Linked DNA regions of Homo sapiens: regions 1 and 3 are each linked to region 2. Evidence: promoter capture Hi-C in 16 types of primary human blood cells and fetal thymus (Javierre and others, 2016). All regions are on one chromosome and are shown on one strand. Each heading gives the region's core, a stretch centred on a gene start or on the middle of the fragment in contact. The rest is flanking DNA. Distances are from core to core; before and after follow the strand shown. Region 1 has its middle 12 kb from the start of TFPI2. Region 2 holds the start of COL1A2 (collagen type I alpha 2 chain). Region 3 overlaps CALCR (calcitonin receptor).

Region 1 (4,181 bases), core at 496-2,995, 520 kb after region 2:
CTCATTTTTCTCCCCTTCCCTATCCCTGGTAACCACTACTCTACTGTTTCTATATATTCAACTGTTTTTTTTTCATTCCACACATAAGTGAGATTGTGCAGTATTTTTCTATCTGTATCTGGCTTATTTCACTTAGTATAGTACCCTCCAGATTCATACTTGTTGTTGCAAATGGCAGTATATCCTTTTATAAGACTGAATAATATTTTATTGTATATATACATGTGTATGTATATATGTGTAAGTGTATGCCTGTATGTGTATACATATCTCACAACTTCTTTATCTACTTATTCATGGATGGGCACTTAGATTGTTTTCCTATCTTGGCTATTGTGAATAATGCAGTGAACATGGGAGTGCAGATATCTTTCTGAAGTACTGACTTCATGTGTTTTGTGTATATCCCCAGAAGAGAGATTGCTTGGTCATATGGTGGTTCTATTTTCATTTTTTTGAGGAACATCCATATTATTTTCTACTATGTCTGTACCAATTTAAATTCCCAACAGTATACAAGGGTTCCCATTTCTTCACATCCTTCCAAACACCTCTTGACTTTCTGATAATAGCCATCCTAACAAGCATAAAGTGATATCTTTATTTATTATGGTTATTTTTTAATTAAAAATTTTTTTTAAAGTCCAGGGGTACAAGTGCAGGTTTGTTACATGGGTAAACTTGTGTCATGGGGGTTTGTGGTACAGATTATTTCATCACCCAGGTATTAAGCGTAGTACCCATTAGTTGTTTTTGCTGATCCTCCCCTTCCTCTGCCCTACATCCTCCAAAAGGCCCCAGTATGTGTTGTTCCCTCTGTGTGTCTATGCATTCTTATCATTTATCTCCCACTTATAAGTGAGAACGTGGTATTTGGGTTTCTGTTTCTGTGTTAGTTTGCTAAGGATAATGGCCTCCAGCTTCATCCACGTCCCTGGAAAGGACATGATCTCATCCTTTTTTTATGGCTGCATGGTATTCCATGGTGTATATGTACCATATTTTCTTTATCCAGTCTATCACTGATGGGCATTTAGGTTGATTCCATGTCTTTGCTATTGTGAATAGTGCTAAAGAGCTTCTGCACAGCAGAATTGATATCTTATAGTGGTTTTGATTTGCATTTCCCTCCATAGTTAATGATGTTAAGCACATTTTTATATTCTTGTTGGCTATTTTTATGTCTTCTTTGGAAAAATGTCTGTTTAGCTCTTTTGCCCATTTTTTACTAGGTTATTTGGTTTTTGTTTTTACTATAGCTTTGAGTTGTTACATATTTTGGATATTAACCCCATGAAGTATATGTTTCACAAATATTTTCTTCCCATCTGTAGGCTTACTTTTCATTTTGTTGATTGCTTCCTTTGCTGTGCAAAAACCTTTTAGTTTGATGTAGCACCACCTATTTATTTTTGCTTTTGTTGGTTAATCTTTTGGGTTGATGTTCAGGAAATTATTGCCAAGGCCAATAGCAACAAGATTTTCCCCTATGTTTTCTTCTACGAGTTTTTTGTTTGTTTGTTTCTGGCCTTATGTTTAGGTATTTAATCCATTTAGAGTTGATTCTGATGTATGGATATCCAGTTTTCTCAACTCCATTTATTGAAAAAAAAACTAATCTTTCCTCATCATTTCTTCTTGGTGGCCTTGTTGGAAATTAGTTGACCACATGTGCTTGGGTTTATTTCTGGGCTGCCTATTCTGTTCCACTGGTCTATGTGTGTGTTTCATGCCTATGCCATACTGTTTTGATTACTATTGCTTTGTTGTATAATTTGAAATAAGAACATGTGATGCCTCCAACTTTGTTGTTCTTGCCTTCATTAATAGATTTACTAACTGTATTTATAGTAATAAAAATCCTTTATTGTCTTTATATGTACCTGTGCCAACATACACAAATTAATGTAATATCCTATATTAAGGGAATAAAATATAAAAATTATATGATTATCTCAATAGATGCAGAAAAATACTTAACAAAGTTCAACATGTTTTCATGATACAAACTCTCAACAAAATACATATAGAAGAAAATTTCCTCAACATAACTAAAGCCATTTATAAAAAGCCAACTGCCAACATAATTTTCTTTGAAGTTTTAAAGACCATGGATCGATTTTTCTCTTTATGTAGCCTAATCTGATTTTTATATTCATATCTGTTAAGGCATACACAATAGAAATTATATGTTGACACTACCTTTAGAGTCCAGGCTCCTTAACCTATACATGCATTTGTAACTGTATCTTACCTGTTATTTGATGCTAAAAGATGGAAAGGTTTTCCTCTAAGATACAGTACAAGGCAAGGTACAAAGATGCCCACCCTCTGCACTTCTATTCAACAGTTCTATTAAAATTGCTGGAAATACTAGCAAGGACAATCAGATAAGAAAAATAAATAGAAGCCATCCAAATGCAAAAGGAAGCAAAATTATCTTTGTTTGCAGATGATATGATCCTCTGTGTAGAAAATCCTTAAAATGTCACAAAAATTGTTAGAACTAATGATCGAATTCAGTAAAGTAGCAGGACACAAAATCAACATCAAAAATCAGTTGCATTTATTTACATCAATAATGATCTATCTGTAAAAGAAATCAAGATGGTCAGACAGTTTTTATAAGATAATCTGTGGAAAATATGTAAAACTTCTTCTGATATTATACCATTCTTGTATTTGAATGATATGACCTATTTGTATATTATTTTTTAAATGCATTGCTAGATTTTGTTGGTTACATTTTAAGTATATTGAATCTATACTCATATATAACATTGTTAGATGTATTCACAGTGAACTGCAACTTTTATCATTATGTTCTTACTATTTGTTATATTTTTCTTTTTATTGAACTATCAAAGAAGTTTTCTACATTATTTTCATTTATGTATAAAATCATTTATATATAACATTTATACGTAAAATCATTTTTATATAAAAATATACATAATTTATGAATAAATGATCTTACATTATTTCTACATTCAAGTTGTTATTGAGATTTTCTTTGTGACTTCATGTAAGATCAATTTTCATGTCCTATTAAGAAGAAATGATATTGCTTTCATTGGAATATATATTTATTATTTATACATGTTAAGTTCAATTTTACACTTATTATTTAAAATATATATACATATATCCAAATATGTATATATCTGCCAGTGCTTGTTAAAGATTACAGACTTTATATTTGAATGTTGCATCAACATTTTTCTCTGTTGCATATTTTAGGACTATTTTCATCAAATTAAACAATTGAGTTTCACTTTCTTTTTCTTACACTAGTTATACGTAAATGTTGCCTGACTTTCTGTCCATTCTAAAGTGTCTTGGATTTTCCAGGATTAGCAACAACAAGCATTCCTATGGTGCATTATGAGGGGTTTCGGCAGCTTGCTAGGTTGCTTAGTTCAAGAGCACTCTCTTCTGAGGGTGCATGGAAGTACACTGCCTTTAATAAATGATGCCTTTTTTACGAGTTGATGTGTCTTCCACTTCTATTATTTTCTTTTTTAACTTTCTATGAGATCCTTACTTTTCACCACTTTATTTCTTCTTTCCATTCACTATCAAGTCTCTTTCCAAAGGATATCTACTTTTTTTAGGTTGCCTCACACTCCACCCTAAGCAATGCCTTCTCACAAGGTTGCCACCTCTCCGGTCCTGCAATTTTCATGCCTCTCCCACTTCCCCCAATTCCTCAATAGCCATTGCTTTGGTCCACCAGGCCACACACCTTAGTTGGAGTAAGGTCTTGTCTTATCCCAAAGAAAACACCAAAGAAAAAGAGTGTTTTCCTTGGGGTAACATTATCTGTGTTTCACCAAGTCTGGGACCCTACTGCATTCTCTTCTTTTTCACATAATTTTTATATTATTTCCTCAGTTATGTGTAAATAGAAGTCTATGTTTTCTCTTTTTCTTAGTTTTGCTCTATAAGTAACTTATGGGTGGTTTTATTAAGATCTCCTGATGAATCTGTATGGTTTGGAAAGTTACGTGAAAAGATTATTATTACTGTATATATACATTATTTTCTTAGGGAAATTGGAAGTCTCAAACAACGTGTTAAAATTTTCTTTGAAGTTTTAAAGACCATGGATTGATTTTTCTCTTTTTGTAACCTAATCTGATTTTATATTCATATCTCTTAAGGCATACAAAATAGAAATT
Region 2 (4,347 bases), core at 1,439-3,938:
TCAAAAGTATGGCAGGGATCAGCAGGGTGATTTGTTTGCAATATTAATATGTAAATGTATTTTGAATTAAATTATTAATTATTTACTATTTTATAACTGTTGTGAAATATTAATGTGTCTGAAGGATATTTTGAATGCTTAGCAATTAAGCTGGTAAAGTGCACAGATGAATCGCTGAATGTAAGACTAGTAGATTGATGAGGAAATAATTTATGATTTTGATCATTTTTAATACCTAAATATCGAAAAAAGGTAAAATTTAGGAAAGTATGTTACCTTAAAATTCTATATTGAATTTGTTTTTTATGAAACATTGAAGCTGACTTACTTTTTTATAAAACATTGAAGTTACCTAGTACTTCATTGAGTTTGTACCATTCTTAATATCCTTTTTCAAAAGGTCTAATTTGCACATTATTAACTATGAAAATGGATTAATTCAGACATCTGAATTTTGCTTTAAATTAGTTCACTTAAATTAGGTAAGATCATTTTACCAATATGTATCATTTTTGTCTCGGAGAAAGAGTTTTGTATAAATGGAAAAACCGGATTAAAGATCTTGAAAAATAATAGAAAAAATAAACAAAAGTACTATCCCCCCTTTTGCCATAATTGTTATAAGTCCTTAAAGAGTGAATTCTTCTCCTACGGTACAAAAATTATAGGTTAATACAGGATACAAGTGTGGCCAAGCTTGCAGTAGGATGAATCACCCCAAAAATTGCTTTAATTAGGTGGCCAAGAAGTGCGTTATTTGAAGTGAGAACATCTGTTGCAACAGTCACAATTTAGGAGGGTGGACCACATCCAGCACTGACATTTAAGGGCAATTTACGAGAATTACTGTTAAATTACAAGAATGATATGTTTACTTCATTGTGTCCATCAGTAGGAAGAATAATTATGCCTGACTTGATTAACGGAAGTCCTTATGATTTTGGAAATTTGCCTTTTAATTACTCAGACATGGACCATTTTGAAGAATGTGTGTTTGATAACATTTATTCCAGACTGTGGTTGGCTGTTGATCAGAAGGTAAGTTGCCTTTGTACCTTCAAATTTCCCTAAGTCTGCCTTCATTTTATTCTCTAGGAGCCGACTCTTTCCTCCCACTCTCAAGATCTCATTAAAAATATGAACTCGGTAATGTGAATTTGTTCACTGCAATTACTCCTTAGTATCCACAGTATGTATACTAAAAGTGAATGAAGGGGGAAGAGACACACAGACACACAGACACACACACACACACACACACACACACAAGCACACAAATGCATTAGAAATTATGCAGTGGTAGACACCGTGCTGTGTGGGTGGAACAACTTTTTGGAGTACTGGGTGTGGTCAGACAATACCATCCCCCATCTAGTCAATATCTTTGTCTAGCACTTTGGCAGCCATTTTCAAGATGAAAACGGACTGATCTTCTTCATTCTCTGTTGACATGAAAGTCTGGCCATGGAACCTAGAGCTGGAAAGTGGCCTTGGGGTCCCTTTAATCTCTGTCTCACATTTTAGAAAAGGCCGTTTGACTTGCCCAAAGTCACGCAGCAAATTGGTGTCAGACTCATGGGAAAAACCCCGGTCTCTTGAGTCTCATCTCAATGTTGATATTTCTCAACTTGCTGCGTTCATAATGTTTGCTTATCACTGGGAACATGTCAAAGGGGTAATTCTCAGGCTCAAACAAAATTTAGAGCAGATTTGAGTTAAAAAATGTTACCATTTCCATGACTAGAAAGTGAATTGAGACACTTATATTACTTTTCAGAATGTACCCACTCCAAGTAGCATCCATTCTTCTTTCCAGGGTTCACTGACTAGCCACTGGGAAAGGCTCCAACCAGAAATGCTGATCATTAATCTGTATAAATCCGTAGAAGCTTTAATTGGGATTCCATCTGCTTAAGGCCCTGTCCCCTGTACTTTCATTTTCCTTCCTCCAGAGGGCGCCTTATAACCATCATCATATCAGCATCGTCATCCTCCTCCTCCGGACAAGCCTTACAATGCCCAGAAGATAAAAGCTCTTAGGAGGTGAGTTTTACATTACTCAGTTGAAGGGCTTTCTAACGCAGGCCTCAAGTTTTACAAGGTGGACATCAGTGCGGTTATGGGGCCTGTGGGGTGCAGGCCCTTGACTTCCTCCACCACATTGGTCGTTAATATCTCATCCTTAGGGAAAAAGACCTTCCGCTCCCTTTGGGGGTTACTAAGCTGAGGAGCCAGACCGAGTTAACTGTCTCACTCTGAACTTAGAGGAAAAGTTCCCTAACTTTTGGCAAGGCTTTTATGTTTTCATTTTTTAAAGTAATTTCCATGTTTCTTATCAATTCCGGCGTTTTCCCACATGCCTGAGAGTCTGCCCTCCAAGTGTACCTGGAATTCAGGTTACAGGTTTTCCTTTTCAGGGCAGGGTGCCCTCCCATCTAACCTCTCTACCCAGTCTCCCCCAAACAAGCTGAAGGCACTTACATTGGCATGTTGCTAGGCATAAGGTTACTGCAAGCAGCAACAAAGTCCGCGTATCCACAAAGCTGAGCATGTCTAGCACTTAGACATGCAGACTCCTTGTGTCGCAGAGCCCCTGGGTCACCGGCGGAGGTATCACCTGGCGGGCGCGGGCATGCAGTCGTGGCCAGTACCTCCAACTTAGCCGAAACCTCCTGCTGCCGTGGTGCTAAAATAATAAAGCCCGGATCTGCCCTATTTATACGGCAAAAGTTTCCCTGGCCCTAGGGTGCCTCCAAAAGGGCCTCCACCAATGGGAGGGCTGGGGCTGGGGGCCCGGGCAGCCACAGCTGGGAGGAGCCTGCGGGGGCGCAGAGGAGGGAGCGAATGGGGGAAGGGACGTGGCCACGGGGCTGGCTTCTTAAATTGGTTCCATTCTTTTTGAGGACGTGGACACTTTTGAGGCTTTCAAGGGGAAACTCTGACTCGTTGTCTGCATACCTCCGCCCTCCGCATCCTCCCGCCCTCCCCCGCCCTTTCCAAGTTTGGAAACACTATGGGACACGTCGGAGTGCTCTGCAGCCCCGACATGGGCAGAATTTGCAGATCTCCGGCGATCAAAGCAGGAGCTGTCCAGTCCCGCCTCACCTGTGCCCTGTAGGCCACTTGTAGGGTGGAGGGCTCCAGCGGGAGCGGAGGGGGCAGAGAAGGAGGGAGGGAAGACTCGATAGCGTGGCGCAGCCGGAGCCCGCCTCCCCGCCCCTCCACCCCTGCACCCCGCCCCCAGCCCCGTCCAGCTTTTCTCTAGCTTTGGGGCTCGTGTGCGCCCACTGTTTCAGCAGTGATGCACTCTCTTTGTCTTATGACTTCGGGAAAGGGCGGGTCCTGTCTGTGGAGGGCTGGGTTGCAGTCGGAGGGCGCCTTTTGTTGGCAGGTGGGCTGGGGAGCAGGCTCGAGGCTGCTTGGCACCCGGCTACAGGGAGGATAGGCTTTGCGAACTCTAGACTAGACCGAGTCACCTGGGGAAGTCCTTCGACCTCCTAGCTTGCCTTTGCTGAGGCTCATTCCAAAGAGGGTCTTTTGGGGGATGGTCTGGCACTCCGACACGACTCCAACCGACCTGGAGACCGAGAACTTATTTCTCAGTCTCTCCTTTCTGAGGCTGCGGTGGGGGATCTTTCATGGTTTCCAGTCTCCCCTCCCCTTCTCCATGGGCTCCTTGTCTGGATTTACCAGTTCTACCCTGAGCCTGGACCCTTCAACCCTCCCGTGAGCCCCCCGGTCCCTCTTGACCTTGCTGCTTACTCTCTGTCCCATCTCTTACAGCCACACCCAAGCACCTCCCCTAGCACATCCAGAGGCCCTTCTGATTCGAGCTTGGGGTCTTCGTAGTCTTCGCTGGTAACACCCCAAGCAGTGCGCCCACCAACGTGGATGTTAACTCTCTCCCCAGCACCCAACTTCCCTCTTCTCTGGCCGCCTCCATCCAACCCTCCACTCCCTACTAGGGAGAGGAGGAACTGGTACTTTGACCCTGAGGTGGGAGGCCAAAGGTCCTGTGCCTTTTTCTAAAGCCTCTTGGGATGGCATTCCAGGCCCTAGGTTTGAAAGGCTGTGTGTGTGTGTGTGCGCGCGCGCGCGTGTGCGTGTGTGTGTGTGTGTGTGTGTGTGTGTCAGGCCTCTCCTCTACTTGCCTAAGGTCCCCATGAGGCAGCGGGGGCCTAGTTAGAGTGCTGCTCTATCCCAGAAGTCATCGCAAAGGGGGCATCTTTAGGTCAGTTCTGTCTCTAAGAAACAGAAGCAAGTGGGCTGTAGTTCCCTGAGAATCTTTTTCCCTTCCTTCCCCCCACCCCCTCCCCGCTTTTTTTGCTTTGCCTTAAGGAAGAATTT
Region 3 (4,266 bases), core at 656-3,155, 950 kb after region 2:
TGCAACTATTTCTGGATGCTCTGTGAAGGGATCTATCTTCATACACTCATTGTCGTGGCTGTGTTTACTGAGAAGCAACGCTTGCGGTGGTATTATCTCTTGGGCTGGGGTATGTATTTTCTGCAGCTAAGTTTTGAGTCACTTTCACCTCTGTCTGTATGCTTTCAGTCTTCTTCTAGTCTTGGTCTCAGAGAATAGAGTCAAGTCCCAGGTCCTTCAAGGAATGATGGAACACAGGTACTGGCAGGAGTTCAGTCTCCAAAAGACCTGTGGAAGCCCTTTAACAATCTCAACTGTGCTGAACATGAGGGTCTGCACAGAGAAGGAAGATAAGGGTGACTTCCAAAGGGTAACTTCAGGAAACAAACCTAGCTAATGATGGACACAAAATGTGTCCTGATTGAGAGAAGATCTGATTAGGCCTCCTTCTGCTTTATTCATCACATGTTTGTAGAGCAAAGGAGAATTTCACATTTTGAATTATGTACCTCCCCTACCCTGGCTTCATTTTCCTTCATCAAGAACATTTCTTCCTGTCAATCCATCATCAGGATTCCTCCAGTGAAAGCTCAGGAAGTGGAGTCCAGCTGAGAGGCAGATATAACCACACGGGCTTCCAAGTAGAGCCTGTGTGACATCATAGCACATGGCATTGGCTCGGGAAAGCTTAGGGCTGGATTGTTTAAGCTGTGGCTGCTTCCGTACAAACTAAGGCAGGGTGCTGAAGTCCTTCAGGGATGCTCTAGAATTGCTCCCTTTCCCCCAGGGCTGCTGAAAGTCCAGCTCCCCCTGGTGGAAGGGAACTGAACAGAAGGTGAGGCAATGAAAGAAAATAAATGCTGCGATAAAAACACATGCTGCCTTATCAAAAAAAAAGTTTCAGCCTTACCTTGAAACTTCCATACCAGAGGAGGAACTCGTGGGCCATCCCTCACTGACTATAGAGCCAAGGGCTTCTCTCACCACATCCACCCCACATGATGGGTGACTGTGACTCTGAGAGCAGAGGCTGTGGATGGCCTTCAACTAAGCTTGCCCTTTAATGCAGCAGGCTGGGGAGCCCCTACAAGTACTGGTAAGAGAGGAGAGGTGTAGTGAGGAGGGAGGACAATCCAAGGGATTTTTTAAAAACATCACCTTTTGTATTTAAAGCCCTGCCCAACAGGCATTGTCGCCAACTTTATAGAAATGTGCTTGGGAAGTCATATAAGCAGCCTAGAGTCTTTCCTGCAGTCTGTAAACTGCAGAAAGGGGCTGGTGTTATGCCATACTGGTTTCCATAACACCCTTACATAACAGGGGTACATGGTTTTAACCAAATGCATTGCCCAAGCCCAATGGGATAATCCGATAATGGTGGGTCAATGGGGCAGATAGGCGGGATGCCTCAAAATTGAATTGATGATGCTACAATTATTTGGTTGCAAGCAACAGAGTAAGATGTTCTAACTTAAGCAAATACAGAGAAGTTGTCAGAATCTAGCGTATCTCATGGAATCTAAGGGCAGAAATATAGCCAGGCAACTAAAAGGGCTGTAGCCTGGGAGCAGATAAGCCAGGAGCTCTCTCCCTCTGCCTTTTGTCTTTGTTTTTCCTTGCATATCTGTTTTTACCCTTCTCTTTCTTTACAGGCCATAGACCATAGGGTCTCTGCTCCCTCCAGTTTTCATAGTAAATACATCCTGCCCCAAAGTTTCCTGAGTACACATGTTTCTGTTCCAGGCACTCACAGAAACTAAATGCCCATCTTTAAGTTCCAATTCTGAATAGCAGGACAAGAAAATCTGATTGATCCAACTGAAGGCAGGTAGCCTACCCTGGTTCAATAAACTGTGGCCAAGAAAATTGAGGGGGATGTTGTCACATAGTGTGAACATGTCTAGTGATTGTGAACCCTCCAGCAAAGGACTGAGAAAGGGGTCTTTGTGAACTGTACAGGCTGTCTAGGATATTCACCAGATCACCTCATCTGCATGGCTGCTCCCTTATAAGGAGAGCAGCGCTGCACCCTGTTTCCTTAACCATCCAGTGAGGTTAGAAATCAGGCTATCACTATCCTGCTGGTTCCACATCAGGTAACAGGTTCTCCTGCTCTTTCCTGTCCTAAAACAGGTCAAAATTTACTCAAAATGGTCTTTTACTATTTTTTTTTTTCTCTTTTAGCCCCAGCCTTCCACAGAGACTAATCTTTCCTTTCCCTGGCCTTCTCATCCGTATGTACACCCTCTCAACAATTTCTAGATTTCCAAATCTGGTCATGCTAAGAATAGACTGGATACAATTTAATCACTGCAATGGCAATTCTGATCATCACAATCATAATAATTGGTGTTGATCAAATGCCTTCCAGTCAAAGACCTGAAAATAACATTCCACCCCAAACACACACACAAACACACACATACTTTCTGCCAGATTTATTTCCTTTGAAATAAAATCTGTGGTATATTTCTTTTACCAGTTTTGATTGTTCAAAACATCTATCTGCCATACTCAGAAAATTTTTCATGGGAAAAAAAGGCTGTAAATGTATTCTTGTCGGTGACATTCAGCAGAGACAAGGGCACCCTGGAAGGAACAATTTATACTGCTCTTGGAGTATACTGATGCATTGTGAATTAGTTATAAAACTTTTTGGCATCATCATAGACAGCTCAATGAAGATATCTGCTTAAAACACATAAACAATTCAAAGGAAAAAAGGAACAAGCTGCTCAGCTGTATCAAAAACAAAGGCAATAATAATAAGTAAATTGTTTATGTGATACCTTAAGCTTCTGTAATCAACAACAATTCGAATGATTCAAGTAGAATCCCAAAGAACATTACACTTAGTAACGTAAGCACAGAACGGGGAGTTGCTAATCAATGGTTATACAGATTAAGTAATGCAAGATGAGTAAATTTTAGGTATCTGCTGTACAACATTGTGCCTATAGGTAACAATTTTGTACTATGCACTTAAAAATCTGTTTAGAGGGCAGACCTGATGCTAATTGTTCTTGCCAGAATAATATAAAAATTTAAATTAAAAAAAGAACTAGAGGGATTTGCACTTCCGTAGATGGACTTTTGGAAAGATAGTCAACCAAATAGTTCTAAAATGTAATGTTTTTAGCATGCCAAAGCTAAGACTATCTTTCTACATGCACACACACACACACACAGACACACACACACCAAAATTCCACCAAACTCATTACCACTGAAAAATCACATTGCCAAATCTGAACTCTGAGAACAAAATTGACATATTTTAAAGCAGTGGCTCCTTTCTTAGAATTTTAAGCAAGCATTATCTTTGGATGGGAGGAAAATGGGTGAAATTAATACCAATTAATTTCTCAAGAAAAAAATAGTTTCACAGAAACTTTATAAAGTTTAATGGGGCAAGAGAATAAGTCTCTTCTGGATAATATTTTTATTGTCCTTTGAAAATTTTTTTCACATGAAGACAGTATGATAGGTTCTAAATTTTACAATGCCAGAAAAGAAGCAAAACCTACATACTTTTAAAAGATTCTTGAAAGTTAGACTGCAGAAAATATGGCCCAAAAAAGCCCAGTTGTATTATAGCACCTAATTTGTTTGCAGGTGATGTAAAGCCCATTCATTTAATTCAGCTGTGAATAATGTTTCCAATTCTAGGATTTGAAATGAATCTCAAAGAATGATAAGAGATATTGTAAACATTAGCCACTGGGTGAACAAGTATCTGGTGGTGAAATTCTCCCCAACAGAAAATCAAAGAATGGTTCTTTCAGTAGTTATTCCCTTCCAAGTCTGCATGGCACCACTTAGTAGTCGATTTCTCTCCAATTGAAGTAACTTCAAATACTGAAGTTTAGTTCTCAGGAAGATCACTTATTTTGCAGCCCTCTCCAGACTGTTTCTTTGCCTTGCCTTGCTGGTTTTCCCCTTGTTAGAAATCAAAGGAAGGAAATTTCCCCCATGGACTTCTATATTGAACAAATAGAATTTATTAAATCCCTCTTAAAAAATGAATCCTACACAGACAGGATTATTCTGAATCTCATCATCTTTGGTGGGAAGAATGGGTTGTTATGGATCTTGGGACCTTGGGGAGAGAGAAAGAAAAAAGAAAAAAAAACAGAAAAAGCAAACTACCTAAAAGGAGGCATCATAGCTAGAAGAAGGCAAAGAGCCCTGGGCGTTAAAAGGTGTGGGGTCTATACTCGTCTCCAGATGAAGTAGAAAGCACTTTCCTTTCTACAAAATGATGAGGTGGGATTCAGTTTTCCATAT

The links. The method cuts DNA at HindIII sites, captures the fragments that hold promoters and counts their contacts. A CHiCAGO score of 5 or more calls a contact.
Region 1: a fragment that was not itself captured here is called in contact with the fragment with the promoter of COL1A2 in region 2 in 1 of 17 cell types (megakaryocytes); the score reaches 5.5 in megakaryocytes.
Region 3: a contact is called between a fragment that was not itself captured here and the fragment with the promoter of COL1A2 in region 2, in 3 of 17 cell types (fetal thymus, M2 macrophages and total B cells). The highest score is 7.9, in fetal thymus.

What each region holds. Positions count from the first base shown.
Region 1 is chr7:93,877,150-93,881,330 of GRCh38, reverse strand. No RefSeq gene overlaps it. Among named protein-coding and RNA genes, the nearest start is that of TFPI2, 12 kb to the left of the region's middle. The HindIII fragment of the contact is 6,841 bases long and covers 1-4,181 here.
Region 2 is chr7:94,393,236-94,397,582 of GRCh38, reverse strand. COL1A2 (collagen type I alpha 2 chain) reads right to left here and starts at 2,688. Exons shown (of 52, transcript NM_000089.4): 1 at 2,482-2,688. The coding sequence starts at 2,551. The HindIII fragment of the contact is 15,634 bases long and covers 1,892-4,347 here.
Region 3 is chr7:93,439,447-93,443,712 of GRCh38, reverse strand. It overlaps CALCR (calcitonin receptor), which reads left to right. Exons shown (of 14, transcript NM_001742.4): 9 at 1-109. Among named protein-coding and RNA genes, the nearest start is that of MIR653, 41 kb to the left of the region's middle. The HindIII fragment of the contact is 1,743 bases long and covers 1,034-2,776 here.